Linked DNA regions of Homo sapiens: region 1 is linked to region 2. Evidence: promoter capture Hi-C in human tissues and cell types (Jung and others, 2019). All regions are on one chromosome and are shown on one strand. The core of a region is centred on a gene start or on the middle of the fragment in contact, and the rest is flanking DNA. Distances in the headings are between cores, read along the strand shown. Region 1 has its middle 15 kb from the start of FLJ32255. Region 2 holds the start of PAIP1 (poly(A) binding protein interacting protein 1).

Evidence for each region. Contacts are between HindIII fragments. The study calls those that stand out against the background at their distance.
Region 1: a fragment that was not itself captured here is called in contact with the fragment with the promoter of PAIP1 in region 2 in 1 of the 25 tissues and cell types used here (lymphoblastoid cells).

Annotation. Positions count from the first base shown.
Region 1 is chr5:43,005,733-43,010,420 of GRCh38, reverse strand. No RefSeq gene overlaps it. Among named protein-coding and RNA genes, the nearest start is that of FLJ32255, 15 kb to the right of the region's middle. RefSeq lists enhancers at 1-236, 2,705-2,754, 2,240-3,092 and a silencer at 2,175-2,264. The HindIII fragment of the contact is 7,081 bases long and covers 1-4,688 here.
Region 2 is chr5:43,554,701-43,559,120 of GRCh38, reverse strand. It overlaps PAIP1 (poly(A) binding protein interacting protein 1), which reads left to right and starts at 2,044. Exons shown (of 11, transcript NM_006451.5): 1 at 2,044-2,539; 2 at 3,122-3,291. The coding sequence starts at 2,275. RefSeq lists a silencer at 1,749-2,608. The HindIII fragment of the contact is 2,914 bases long and covers 1-2,487 here.

The DNA of each region.
Region 1 (4,688 bases), core at 1,694-4,193, 550 kb after region 2:
TTAGGATAGGCGCCTGGGAGGGCTCCCGAGTTGGAATAAGAGTCGGAAGAACTGACAGGGCTGGGGGCGCACTAAGCACACTCTACTCCTGAGAGGTGAGGGTGGGGATGTTGGAGGGAAAAAGGGCTGCTTTTTCCTGCCTGCAGGCTTCAGATTCACAGGGGATGTGAGGAGAGGGCGGAGGAGGAGGAAGCAGCGGCTGTTTATGCTGGGAAGATGGCTCAGTTGAGAAGTGAGGCAGATGTGGCCTCAGAGGGTCTGGCGGATGGCTGCCGGGATCACCGGGGGCTGGACTTTGAGATGTCCAGGACGAAGTGTTGCCCTTTCAGTGCTGCCCTCCCTGTGTCTGCTGGAACTGTTGGAGCCGCAGTGCAGCCTAATTTTGACTTCAGGTAAAATAATTCAATATACTGAGGCCCAGGGGGAACAAAGCAAGGTCTACTCCATATCTCTGAACAGCTGGTGTCTTTCAGTGCCTAAACTCAATCAGAATCCTGGGAGCAAAAGTAGCTCTCCAGTGCAGTCCATGCAGGTTACTTCTTGCAACATAGAGGTGACTGAAGCATGGTAAGCAGATCTAGAAAGGCAAACATCTCTAGCAGATCTAGAGAGGCTAGCCAATGTTAGCTAGCAGTGTCTTTATGTTGATAAACCTATTCAGAATGTTAACTTTGTTTGTTGGTTTGTTTGTCCATTTTTGTCTCCCAGGCTGGAGTGCAGTGGTGCGATCTCGGCTCACTGCAACCTCCAGTAATTCTCCCGCCTCAGTCTTTCCAGCAGCTGGGATTACAGGCTCCCCATCGCCACACCCAGAATTTTTTGTAGAGACGGGGTTTCGCCATGTTGCCCGGGCTGCTCTCAAACTCCCGATTTCTTAGTCTGACCAAGTCAGGGTTTAGCTATTTCTTAGCGTAGCAAGTTGAGATTTATTCCAGTTTCGATTTCTAGTTGTAACAATGCTGGCTTTAACCGTGCCTACGTAGTCGTTGCAAGTTCCTGTTTTGTAATAGGAACCCCCATTATAGCCGTTCGTACGGTTTTTAAGTCTTGTAGAAATCTGGGTACTGGAGAATGTAATTAAAAAAAAAATTTAGCAGTGCCTGAAATCTTTTAGTCATACCAAGTGTGATTTCACAATAGAGATTCTCGCCCTGGCTGTGCTTGTGATTTTTCACTCATGCAGAAGTTGAGGTGTCTAGGCTACAGGAACTTTTTGGTGTCGCAAATACCGGTTTAGCCATGGCTGTTTCTTCTTAATCCGAGGAATTTTCGAATAGGCGCAAGAGGCACAGGTTTAGTGCTAATACAAATATAGCCGTAGGATCGCATCGTTCAACACTGCAATTTCTTTGTAGGGTTATTTGTATGTTTTGTATACTCAAAAAAATTTTTTTTGATGTGTCTTTTTCTGGGAGCGAGGTTACTGGTGTATTTTATTTTCATTTCTGTTTGCTTTAAAAATTTATTTTATTTTTTATGTAAATGTTATGTATTTTATTTTTTCTTACCCACTGCCTTCCCCAGGAGAGTAAATGTGGCATAATTTCTTCTACTGATTTTGAGTATCATGTCTCAGCTTCCTACTAACTAGCTTTCTCCCGTGAGTCGGGGAGCAGAGCTGGTGCCTGGTCTCTAGGGTTCTCTTCCGCGGCTCTGTGCCTATGTCGAGCCAGCAGTTTCGCATCAGCACTTTCGCCAATAGCGGAGACTCAGTGTTTTCTCGGCTGCTGCACCGCTGGAAGCGCTGAACACAACAGAACGTTTCGGCGGGGCGCTGTGGCTCACGCCTGTAATCCTAGCACTTAGGGAGGCTGAGGCGGGTGGATCACTCGAGGTCAGAAGTTCGAGACCAGCCTGGCCAGCGGGTGAAACCCCGTCTGTACTAAAAATACAATAATTAGCTGGCCGTGGTGGCGCGTGCCTGCAATCCCAGTTACTCGGGAGGCTGAGGCAGTATGCTTGAACCCAGGTGGCGGAGGTTGCAATGAGACGAGATTGCGCCACTGAACTCCAGCCTGGGTGACAGAGCGAGGCTCCTTCTCAAAAACAAAACAACCCAGAACGTTTCTTGTTCACAAGACTCAGAAGTGCTTTGTGGTAACGCTTCCCCTCTCCTAGCGCCGCCACTTTCCCCGGGCTGGCTGTCTCACGGTCTCAGCCCAGTGATTGGCCGAGGAGGCGCTCTTTCAGCACTTTCGCTGGAAGGGCTTGGGCTCGGTTTTTCTGCCACAGGCGTTTCATTGGGTAGGTGCTTTCTCGGTGGAAGCACTGTACAACCTTCCAAGCCTCGATATTTCTCAGAGACGACGATTTCTTAGTGGCAATACCTTAACTGCACCAAAAACTAAAGTTTGCCGCTGGGTACTCCGCTAGTCGTTCAGTGTCCGCATTTGCTATTGATGCAGGATTTTTGCTTCTAAGCTCAGCTATATCCGGGTCCTTGTCTCACGATCAGGAGGAAGTGGGCACGCGGATATCGAAGAGTGAGTGGAGTAGAATTTATTAAGCGTAAACGAAAGCTCTCATAAAAAACAAGGGTCCTGAAAGCAGGTTGCCGGTTGCTCCTTAACGGCTGAATACAAAGGCTTTTATATGAAAGCTAAGGAGGCTGGGTTCCCTGTTTGTATAAGGCGAGAATCCCGGGTGGCTCCATCCCATTCCCCCAGTGCGCATGCGCGCTCTTAATCCGCAGCAGGCATGCTTAGGCAAGTCCCTTGTGCAAGTTCCCTTATCTGCACAAAACACCAGTCGGAGGTTCTCTGGGGACCCTTCCCTTACAGTCTCCCTAAAGCTGGCTAACTCCTTTCACTATGTCCCAGTATCCCTGGTTCCTCGGACTGGCACTTTCTGAGTCATAGCACCGCTCATTCGTCCGAGCAGAATTGATCTCGGTGGCAGCACCTCTGGTGGGTCAAGCCTGCAGCTTCTCCTGAGCAGTTTCGTTAGTTTTTGGGTCCTAGAACCGCTAGTGGTACCATAGCGGCTCTTCATGGGTTGCAGGACGTTTGCCAACTCCACCCCACGCTGCCTGCCTAGGTTCGGCTACGGGGCAAAAAGAACAGACTCCTGCAAAGGAAGAACCCCGAGGGTTGGATATTTAGGAAAGACGTCCTTTGCAGTGCCACGTCCGCGGATGCTGCACTTGGCTTTCTCCTCCCTCCTGGGGAAGAATTGATGTTTACTTCTCCCCACTCTCCGGGCCGCATTATCCAGGGATTTCGGGGACTAGATTACCTGAGATTTTAGCGCTTCTACTGGATCATCCTTTTGGAAATAATTATCACTTACAATAATGTCTATCCGGGCCGGGTGCGGTGGCTCACACCTGTAATCCCAGCACTTTGGAAGGCCGAGGAGGGTGGATCACGAGGTCAGGAGATCGAGACCACCCTGGCCAACATGGTGAAACCTCGTCTCTACTAACAGTACAAAAATTAGCCGGGCGTGGTGGCGCGCGCCTGTAGTCCGAGCTACTTGGGAGGTTAAGGCAGGAGAATAGCTTGAACCGGGAGGACTGCAGTGAGCCGAGATCCTGCCACTGCACTCCAGCCTGGCAACAGAGCAAGACTCCGTCTCAATAATAATAATAATAATAATGTCTATCCATGTTCTTTAAAAAAGTTTGCCTTCACTATTCTTTATCAACGTTTGGTTGTCTTTCTCAATAAAATAATAGAGAAACATCAAATGCCTTTTGTTTCTTTTGTTTTGTTTGGTTGTTGTTGTTTTAGGATCAAGACCAAGTCAGAGGTCTGTTGCTGGGTAAGGAGTGCAGGTAGGAAAGAAGCCAGGACTCCTCCCACTTACATTCCTTGATTCCTCAACCCAAGCACATACTTGGTAGGACTGTCTTTGGCCAAAAGCTTTTATCTTTCCAAGTTCTTCCTGGGCTCTGACAAGTGCCTGGGAAGTGGTACAGTAGTCCCCAGCTCTACAAATTGCTGTTCTGGAGGGTGGGTTGGCAGAAATGTTGGCTAGTTGAAATGTGAGTGGGGCAGCTTAGGTAGGCAATGATTACCTAAAGACTGTAAAGCCAAGGCGACTAGACCTGTATACCTTGGTGGTGAAGACCTAGGAAACCAGGTCTCCATCACTTATACACTATAAGGTGTAACATTTCAGAAGTAAACTGAAATCTTATGCTTCATATTCCTTTTCAGTAAACTCAGTGGCATATTACACTAATCATGGTGTCCACTTTTTTCCTGAGTTATATACTATTGAAAGATCTTAGAACACTCTAGCACAATGTAAATGTTCATTATATATTAATTACAATTACTTTACATAACTGTTCTTTTTCAGTGATTTTTTTTATACCTCAAATCACCAAACACAAGCCTGAATCCACTAAAATGTCCTTTCTAACACCCTCATTTTGAGACAGCTCGTGGTTCTCTATGATAAGTTCTTGGGTGAGGAGTAACAAATCTAGTTTCTTCAACTGCAAACTCAGTTTCTGATGGTCTTTGGCTAAAGCATATTCACACATACGAGGAATTGATGAAAATGACATCTAGCAGGGACGTTAATGGTTCTTAAATACTTTGGGTTCATTTCTGATTGGCCTTTATTTCTAATAAAGGTATCTGAGGCTGGGCGCAGTGGCTCACACCTGTAATCGCAGCACTTTAGGAGGCCGAGGCGGGTGGATCATTTGAGGTCAGGAGTTCAAGAGCAGCCTGGCC
Region 2 (4,420 bases), core at 795-3,294:
GTGAGTGCAAACAAAAGCTTGGGGCAGAGTTGGGGCATCTACTTCAGTGGAACATAACTCATTGTTAGTTTTTTAGCATAGTTTATGGGTCTTTCCTGTATGATAAAAAAGTCCAGGCAAGAAGTGACTGGTGACCACATACAATAATGAATTTGAAAATATTAAAATTGTAATTTTTAAATTGTAATCTTGTCTCTGCAATATATGCTGAGTGTTACCACACAGTTATTATTTTACAGATGAGGAAAGTGAGGCTCAGAGAAGCTAAACCCCTTACTTACTCAAAATCACACAGACAGCAATAGTCAAGAGTGGAATCCCAACTAAGCTCTGGCAGACTGAATCCTAAACTTTCCGTACACCGAAGAGCCACACGTACTGCTGGCTTCCTTCCCTGACTTCATTATTTTGCCTAACATCAATAGCATGAACCATTTATTCATGATTGCCCTCGGTGAAGCCATTTTCTCATTCGTTTAGGGGAAGACATTGTTTTCTTTATTAATGAGAAGAGAAAACGGTTAACAAGAGTTTGTGTCCCTAATTGAAATGATTCTTAAGATGAAAAGATAGAAAAACATGAAACCCTGCTTAAAACAAAAGGCTAAAATCAGAATTTATGGAGATGGATCAATCCAACAGTAAAGAAATCAATTTTTCCTTCCTTGTCGTTACTTATATTCATCTATCCTTTATTTGGCATTAATACTGTCAGGCCTGACAAAAACAACAATTTACATATTAATAAAATCTAGAATTGTGCTGTGCAACGCAGTAGCCACTAGCCACATGTGGCTCTTGAGCCCTTGAAATGTGCCAATCCCGACTAAGATGTGCCATAAGTGTAAAATATACACTGGATTTCAACTAGTATCTAAAAAACAGAGAAAATATTTAATATTTTAAATCGCATGTTAAAAAACCATTTTGAACATAATGGATTAAATAAATTTAAATTAATTTCACCTGGTTTTTGTTTTGTTTTGTTTTGTTTTTTGAGACAGAGTTTGGCTCTTGTTGCCCAGGCTGGAGTGCAACGGTACGATCTCGGCTCACTGCAACCTCTGCCTCCTGCGTTCAAGCGATTCTCCTGCCTCAGCCTCCAGAATAGCTAGGATTACAGGCATGTGCCACCACGCCCGGCTAACTTTGTATTTTTAGTAGAGACGGGGTTTCTCCATGTTGGTCTGGCTGGTCTCGAACTCCCGACCTCAGGTGATCCGCCCCCCTCGGCCTCCCAAAGTGCTGGGATTACAGGCGTGAGCCACTGCGCCTGGCCACACCTGTTTCTTTTCACTCATTTAATGTGGCTTCTCCAAAATGTAAAATTACATAAGTGGCTTGCATTTGTGGCTCGCATTATATTTTCATTGGACAGCACTGATGCAAGATGAAAAAGAGGGCAGAGTTACACTGAAAGGTAGCACATTTTCTTGAAATTTCTGGAGGGGAAGGTTAACGGGAAGAGAACGAAGCTTGTTAAACGTAGGTGTGACCTACTGTGGTAAACACCTAGGGTGAATTAAAGAGGGGACACATATTTTGATTCCGTTTCTACTCCCTTCCCCCGATGCTAACGGAGCAGGTGACAGTCTCCCAGGGACCACTCCTCAGCAGTCCGCGGGTCTCGGCCGGAGCCGAGTCATTGAACACACCTGTGCGCCAGCGAACCCTGGCGCAGGGTCCACGCCCCCTCCCCCCGTGTTTTTATTTCCCGGGCGTCAACTGTCGGTCTCGCACGTCTCTCCTGAGAACTACCGAGTAGGTCGGGCCTGCCTGTGGTAAGCGTCCCCCTCACCCCTCATCCCTCATCCCCCCCAGCCTGGCCCCGGAACCGAGATGCCCCTGCCCGAGCCTGGCTGCGGGCCGGCAGGTGGCCAAGACGCCACTCGGCGGGCGGCCTGCTGGGCCCGGCGGCCGGCCAGCCGCGAACTGGAGGATCCTCGCGGGCGCGTCCCGGGCCTCCGGGCCGCAGGGGGCCGCTGTGACCCGCCTGCGCCCCTGCCGCGCCGAAGGCGGGGAGCCGGGTTTTGGGGGAGAACTGGAAAGCCGAGGGTAGCCGAGCGGGGCGGGCGCTCTGGAGCGGCGGGTGCTCGGGCTGCCGTCCGCTCCGCCAGAAGCACCGAGCAGCCGAGCCGGGGCCCGCCGCCCTCCTCCTCCATGAGGCCCGAGTGAGGCGCGGCGGCTATAGCCGACCCGCGGCGCCTTCCCCCCGCGTCCTATCGCGAGCGCAGCGGCAGCGGCCCCTGGAGGAGGAGGCGGAGGAGGAGGAGCATGTCGGACGGTTTCGATCGGGCCCCAGGTGCTGGTCGGGGCCGGAGCCGGGGCCTGGGCCGCGGAGGGGGCGGGCCTGAGGGCGGCGGTTTCCCGAACGGAGCGGGGCCTGCTGAGCGGGCGCGGCACCAGCCGCCGCAACCCAAAGCCCCGGGCTTCCTGCAGCCACCGCCGCTGCGCCAGCCCAGGACGACCCCGCCGCCAGGGGCCCAGTGCGAGGTCCCCGCCAGCCCCCAGCGGCCTTCCCGGCCCGGGGCGCTCCCAGGTACGGAGCAGCTCTAAGGGCCCCAGTCCTCCTTGGCGAACGCTTCCCCACGGCCCTCCACGCGTGCCGAGGCCCGACGCGCTGTCTGCGGTCCCCACCCCCGGTTCCCCGAAAGCATTCCCCGAGAGGGCCGCGTGACCGGGTAGGGACGGGCCCGGAACCGGGTTTGGAAGGTGTCTGCTGGAATCCTTTGTGCGCCTGGCTGGGGGGAGGGGCCGGGTGCGCGGTCTCGGAGTTCGGGGTCCCGGGAGGAAGTAAAAATCGCCTCCCCTCAGCAGCCCTCTAAAGCGAGACCCTAGCGAGTAACCACCTCTTTTCCACCGACCCCTTTAAAACGACAGAGAGGAAAAAAGCTCGCAAGCACTCATTTGAGAGGCAGGTATGCCCATAACGGAGTCACAGCAAGTCTATTGTTCCTTTTTGTAGGCTGTCTGTACACATTCCGGCGATAACCATAAATTTCATGATGGTTCCTGTTTAACTCTTAAAAACAGACGCTTTTCAGATGGTTTTTCAGTATATAGCAAGTTGCTGTACAAAGGAAAGAATGCATCTGACGCCCCGTTTTTTTTTCTTTTGCAGAGCAAACGAGGCCCCTGAGAGCTCCACCTAGTTCACAGGATAAAATCCCACAGCAGAACTCGGAGTCAGCAATGGCTAAGCCCCAGGTGGTTGTAGCTCCTGTATTAATGTCTAAGCTGTCTGTGAATGCCCCTGAATTTTACCCTTCAGGTTATTCTTCCAGTTACACAGTAAGTACACCCTTTTTCCTACAACTCTGGGTTAATTTACTGGAATAATGTGGTTGTTACTTTGTTAATCAGAGTATGTTTGTGCTTTCTGTACTACACGTAAAAAAATTTTTTTATTGTGAATGTTTTGAATTATTGAACTCAGAAGGAAACAAAGCTGATTCAGAAATACATTTTGTAGTTATATTCAAGGTATTAGAATGTAAGCTTGAGATACACATCTGTGTTCTTGTTTCTAGTGATTATTCCATTATGTTAAAATAGACATAGTTTTGATCCTAATTATTGTATGCAGAAATGTCCTACGGGGTTGTGATAAAGTATTTACATAGGTATAAAGAATGTTTAAACTTTCAGTTTTTCTTTGTCACTTATATAACAACTTTAAAAAATAGTCACTTTTCTTAAATAGCCGTACAAAGCACAGTTGGAATATGTAGAAAGGAATTTGTTGTACTGGATAAACCCAGATGAGTAAATGCATAGGGATTAATTATAGAGAAGTGGGAGGGAATCATTGGAGAAATGATTGATGATACTTTAGCTTAAATCCTGTCTTTCCTATCTTCTTAGTTTTATTGAAGTATAGCAGAGAATAGTGTACTTAAGTGTTAGCTCAGTCTCATAAAGTGAACACTCAACTAACCAGCATCCCAGTCAGGAAATAGAACATTATCAACATCCCGAAAACCCACTCTGTCTCCTTCCAGTTGTTCTTGATGTCCAAGTATAGCACTGTTTTGACTTCATAGGATAGTTTTGCCTGTGTTCAAAGTTTATATAAATAAAGTCATATAGAATATATTCTTTCTCACTTTCAATATCAAGATTACTCCATATTGTAGCATATAATTGGAGGTGACTTATTTTTATAACATTCCATTGCATGAATATATCCCATTTGTCTGTTGATGAACGTTGGTAGCTTTCACTCTTGGGTTATTATGAATAGGGCACATTTTGTGTCTTGCTGGCTGTATGCCTTTATTTCTTTTTGGTATATTACCAAGGTATGGAGTTGCTGGGACTTAGGGTAGCCAGCTTTAGCAGAGACTGCCAAGTAGTTTTCCAGAGATTGTTCCACTGTACATTCTGAGTAGTGTATGATTTCCAGTTACTCTGCTTCCTG